Regions from separate parts of the Homo sapiens genome. Here region 2 is linked to region 1. The links are contacts of gene promoters, found by promoter capture Hi-C in blood cells and fetal thymus (Javierre and others, 2016). All regions are on one chromosome and are shown on one strand. The core of a region is centred on a gene start or on the middle of the fragment in contact, and the rest is flanking DNA. Distances in the headings are between cores, read along the strand shown. Region 1 holds the start of ALKBH2 (alkB homolog 2, alpha-ketoglutarate dependent dioxygenase). Region 2 overlaps SSH1 (slingshot protein phosphatase 1).

Region 1 (2,950 bases), core at 146-2,645:
TCTGGTGAAAACCCTCTTGCTGGTGGGGACTCTGTTGAGTCCTGAAGCCGTGTAGGGCATCACATCGCGAGGGGCCTGAGTGTGCTAGCTCAGGTCTCTCTTCTTCCTTTTATAAAGCCACCAGTCCCACTCCCACGGTAACCCATTAACCCATTAACCCCTGAGCCCATTAATCTATTAATTCATTTATGAGGACATTATGACAGAGCTCTCATGTCCCAATCACCTCTTCAAGGCCCCACCTCTCAATACTGCCACACTGAGGATTAAATTTCAACGCGGATTTTGGAGGAACAGATATTCAAACCACGGCAATTCCCTGTATATGAAATTCTGGAAAAGGCAAAACTATAGGGAGAGAAGACAGATCAGTGGTTGCTGATGCTGGGTGATGGGCGAAGTTGATTAAGAGGCTGGAGCAGTTTTATGGAGGGACGGAACTGTCTTAGATCTTGATTGTGGTGGTGATCATACAATATTGTACATTTGTTGAAATCTGTCAAAACAAAGCCTCTGATCTCATGGAGCTTTCGTTCCATTGAGGGGAGACAGAGTAAATAAAAATTAGGAGCCGGTCGTGGTGGCTCACGCCTGTAATCCCAACAATTTGGGAGGCCCAGGTGGGAGGATCACTTGAGCCCAGGAGCTTGAGACCAGCCTGGGCAACATAGCAAGGCCCTATCTCTACTAAAAATAATAAAAAAATTATTTAGGGTGGGGTGGGATGTGCCTGTAGTCCCAGCTACTCCAGAGGCTGAGACGGGAGGATCGCTCTAACCCAGGAGTTCAAGGCTGCAGTGAGCTATGATCATGCCATTGCATTCCAGCTTGGGCAACAGAGTGAGATCCTGTCTCAAAAAAACAAAACAAACAAGAACAACATCAAAAAACAAGAAAACAAAGAAAAACGAGCAATAATGGAACCAACATTTATTTAGAGGACAGAGCATTTCTCATGCATCCTGTCATCTCCTCAGGCGCTCTCATGACATAGGTGCTGTAGTCCGCACTTCACAGATGAGGCAACTTAACCCCAGAGAGGTTAAGTGACCTGTGGGAGGCCACACAGCCAGGGCGGAGGAGACAGAAACAGAATCCACGATATCCGACTGCAGAACTCCTGCTCCCACTCGTGACAATATACTGGTGGCCCAACGCCCTTTCCGGACACCAAAGTAACCCTCACTGAGAAGTGACGCCAAGCCACAGTTCTCACCCCAGCCGTGATTCTCGACAGTGGCCCAACAGGTGATCAACGGGAAAGCGGCAGTGCTTGCCACACACGGGAGGCCAGCAGGTGGCACCAGGGGGCCGCCCGGCTGCTCTCTTTGCGCCCTAGCCTGCCGTAGTTCCCAGCGTGCTCCGGAAGTGACGCGACCGATTCGCTGGGGCGCGTCTTTCCCACCACGAGGCCACCAGGGTGACTGCGGGATTCCGATCTGCGCCGGAGCTGCGATGCTAGAGCACTCTTGCCACCCCCACCCCACGGACGTGTTGCAGTGATATCAGAATTTTGCGTGCGGTTTACCCGTGTTTAACCTCTTTGCGTCTCGCTTCTGAATCGTATCCACTTGAGCATCACTAGACTGATCTATTTTAACACTGGTGGGGGGCAGCGAGGTCAGTTATGGGTCCTTCCTCCTTAAAGGGGTGGACAGTTGACTTTGGGCAAACCTCTTCGCCTCTGTGGGCAACAGTTTCCCCTTCTGCAAAATGAGGGTTTGGATTGTAGTTTCTAAGTTTAGCTGTGGCGTGCGAATTCCCAGGAGGTAGTTCTTTAAAAATTCAGGTGCTCAGGCGTGGAGTGCAGACCTCTGGGTTTTTGCAAGCTAGCCAGCTGATTCTGATGCACAGGTGGACGTGGGAGACCCTGGATCAGATTGTCCCTAGGGTCCCTTCCGGCTTTAACATCTTCTGTTTCCTTTCTAGGACATGGTTTTAAACTTTAAAATGAAAATGTGAAACTAGGAATGTTGCTGTGAGACCCCTTGGACAAACAGATTTTTGCACTGGGGATAGAACTTGAGCAATTTCTGTCTTGGCCTCGCCACTGACGTCCCTTCTTTCCTGTGGGGACAGGATGGACAGATTCCTGGTGAAAGGGGCTCAAGGGGGCCTTTTGAGGAAGCAGGAGGAGCAAGAGCCAACTGGAGAAGAGCCAGCTGTGTTGGGAGGAGACAAAGAAAGCACAAGGAAGAGGCCCAGGAGAGAGGCCCCAGGGAATGGAGGCCACTCAGCAGGCCCTAGCTGGCGGCACATTCGGGCTGAGGGCCTGGACTGCAGTTACACAGTCCTGTTTGGCAAAGCTGAGGCAGATGAGATTTTCCAAGAGTTGGAGAAAGAAGTAGAATATTTTACAGGTAAGCAGAGGGGTGTGTGTGTGTGTGTGTGTGCATTGAGGGCTTGTTTGGTGCAATTAATGATCGTATGTTTGGAGAAATCTGAACTCAGGATCCATTATTTACTGATGGGTTCACTAATGGATTCATCCAATATTCTCTGAGCACCTCTGGGCTAAGCCCCTTAGGTGCTTGGGACATAAACTTGAAAGAAACTGGATTGCCTGTCTACTAGGAGCTGACAGATGACTCGAGTGAATCTCTCCTTGGCTACTGATGAGTATCTTCTGGGAAAGTTTACAAAACAAAGTAAAAAAACGTGCTGGGTTCTACTGCAGAGCACTTCAATCAGAATCGCTCCGAGTGCAGGCTGACCACTTGTTTGTTTAAAAAGCTTCCAGGTGATTCTCATGGGCAGTCAGGGTTTGAGAATCACTGGTCTCATAGGAGAGATGGCAAATAACCAGGTAATTTCTCCACACCAGTGGTTCTCAGCATCACCTGGTGGACTTGCTGTTGGCAGGACTTGGATTGCTGGACCCTACCCCTGTGGTTTAGTTTAGTTTCTAAGGAGAGTCCAGGTGCTGCTGGTCTGGGGAGCACATGTTGAG
Region 2 (2,742 bases), core at 172-2,671, 270 kb after region 1:
CAAAAATTAGCTGGGCGTGGTGGCGCATGCCTGTAATCCCAGCAAGGTTGGGGGCTGAGGTGGGAGGATTGCTTGAGCCCAGGAGGTCGAGGCTGATGTGTCACCACAGCCAGCTAGTTTTTTGTGGGTGTGTATGTAAATGAGGTCTCACTATGTTGCTCACTGTGTTGCTCAGTGAGCCACGATTGCGCCACTGCACTCCAGCCTGGGTGACAAAAGAAAAGGACCCTATCTCAAAAAGAAAGAAAGAGGAAAAAGTGCTTGCATGTAAGTGGATCTTTGTCGTAGGTGGACAGCATCTCAGGGCATTTCTTGGAGAGGCAGTGCATAATTGAATGTCTGTGAGCTGAGAAGGCCTTTACCTTTCAGAACAGCAGCAGGTGAAACCAACCAGCTATTGTGGCCAGTTTTCTTGTGAACATTTTGTTTGTTTAACCTCAAGTCATTCAGCTTCATTTTAGATCTGAGTGCTCAGGTTAGAATTCTACACCATGCAATTTATAGCAAACACCAAGGCTCAGTCAGTATTTTCACATACTGATGTTGATGATATTTAGGTCTGTTTTAAGCAAAGAAAATAACTGTCCTGTACAAGGAGGCAGTGTGGTTTGTGGAAATAGTATTTGTTTTGAAGCCAGGCAGACCTGTCTTCTGATCCTAGTTCTCCAACTTACTAAGCCGTAACAGGTCGACTTCTAAGCCTCAGTTTCCTAGTCTTTACAATGGGCATCAAATACTGGTGCCTCAGACAATATGGAAATTTAGAGTTATGCGTGTAACATACCTACCTGTAGTAGGTGCTGTATATATATATGGGTAACTATCATTGTTATTACGATGACTTCTAGTACAATACAGCTATAAACAGACCCTTCATTCTTTTTTTTTTTTTAATTATATGAAAAGTTTTTTTAGAGACGGATCTCATTCTCTTGCCCAGGCTGGCGTGCAGTGGCCTGATCATAGCTCACTGCAGCCTCGACCTCCTGGGCTCAAGTGATTGTCCAGCCTTAGCTTCCTGAGTAGCTGGGACCATAGATGCGTGTCACCACACCCAGCTAGTTGTGTGTGTGTGTGTGTGTGTGTGTGTAGATGAGGTCTCACTCACTATGTTGCTCAGGCTGGTCTCCAACTCCTGGCCTCAAGCCATCTCCCCACCTCAGCCTCTCAAAGCATTGGGATTATAGGTTTGAGGTGCCATACTCAGCCAGATTCTTCGTTCTTGAATTTGCTAATTATTCTGCCCTCTTAGAAATGTAGCTGTTGTTCATGTTTTAATTGTAACACATATGACAAAGCAAATGCTCAAGCTCTGCTCACTAAGTGTCAGATACCTCCTTCCTCTAATCCAAAGACTAGAAGGGTAGGATGCAAGCCACCAGCTGGCTGACTCTTGTGCCCTGAGGTCTGGAGTGGACGATGAGGTCGGAAGGCAGAGGGGCCGCCAGCTGTCCACAGTTGGTCTGTAAATGACCTTGGGACAGACGCAGACTAGACTTACGTTAGTTCCTTTTTTTCCCTAGAATTACCATCAAGTCTCCTGAATGTACCAGAGGCCCCCCAGTAACCACTGTGCAGAGCTGAGTACAATTGAGGGTTAATTCTGTCCTTGGAAAAGTAGTTCAGTTTGTTTCAGCCAGTCCAGTCAATTTGAGACCCTTTCTAGGGCTTATATTCTCTGATTTTTTTGTGTGTGGATGTCAGACTGGGGTTTGGATTTCTGTCTGTCAGCAGTTCCATATCTCAGCAAACAATCCCACTGAAAGAAGTTTATCTGTGTGGAAAATGTCCCTTTCATTTAGGCATTTATCAGACAGGGGTTTGTTTTTGCTTTCCCCAATGCAGTTCTGTGACTCGGGTAGATGGTGGGAGGGCCCAGGCAGGTGAAGAACCAGCTCATGGTCGTTGTCGTTGTGTTGCATTGGTGACATGACGGGTGGAGGAAGGGGCTGGGGAGGTCTATGGCTTTCTTTAATGTGAACCCTTATCTCCAAATCGCTCATCATAGGAAGCAGGGTCAACACAGGGTGTTATACACTGTGGAATTGTATAACTGGAGAGGACAGATAAGAGGGGCATGGTTCTTTTCTTTTTTAAATTTTACTTATTGTGGAAAGAATGCTTAATTGGCCTGGGTTTGGTGGCTCATGCCTATAATCCCAGCACTTTGGGAGGCTGAGGTGAGAGGATCATTTGAGTCCAGGAGTTCGAGACCAGCCTGGGCAACATGGCAAAACCCTGTCTCTATTGAAAAAAAAAGAAAAAGAAAGAACGCTTAACATGAGATCTACCCTCCTGGCTAGAGGCACAAATTTCTAATGACCCAATTCCTCTCTGAGACAGGAAGTGCAATTTGGACATCATCTGTCCTTCTCCCTTAAAATGAAAAAGATGCTTTTGCAAAAGGAACAAACACAATGTTTCCTTTTGGAGCATTTGAGTGTGTAAGCATTATTGATCCTTTTGGGGTTGTAATTGTGATGTATAGAGTAATTTTTTTTCCTTTGTAGAGACAGGGTCTTATCGTGTTGCCCAGGGTGATCTCAAACTCCTGGGCTCCAGCGATCCTCCTGCCTTGGCCTCCCAAGTAGCTGGGACTACAGATGTGAACCAGAAAGCCCAGCTAATTTTTTACTTTTCTGTAGAGATGGGGTCTTGCCATGTTGCCCAGACTGGTCTTGAATGCCTGGCCTCAAGTGAGTCTCCTGCCTCGGCCTCCCAAAGCACTGGGATTACAGGTGT

The links. The method cuts DNA at HindIII sites, captures the fragments that hold promoters and counts their contacts. A CHiCAGO score of 5 or more calls a contact.
Region 2: a contact is called between a fragment that was not itself captured here and the fragment with the promoter of ALKBH2 in region 1, in 2 of 17 cell types (M0 macrophages and M2 macrophages). The highest score is 7.1, in M0 macrophages.

Annotation. Positions count from the first base shown.
Region 1 is chr12:109,091,917-109,094,866 of GRCh38, reverse strand. It overlaps ALKBH2 (alkB homolog 2, alpha-ketoglutarate dependent dioxygenase), which reads left to right and starts at 1,395. Exons shown (of 4, transcript NM_001145374.2): 1 at 1,395-1,620; 2 at 1,930-2,360. The coding sequence starts at 2,081. The HindIII fragment of the contact is 3,285 bases long and covers 1-2,735 here.
Region 2 is chr12:108,819,565-108,822,306 of GRCh38, reverse strand. All of the region lies in intron 3 of SSH1 (slingshot protein phosphatase 1), which reads left to right. Among named protein-coding and RNA genes, the nearest start is that of MIR619, 16 kb to the left of the region's middle. RefSeq lists an enhancer at 271-320. The HindIII fragment of the contact is 5,107 bases long and covers 1-2,742 here.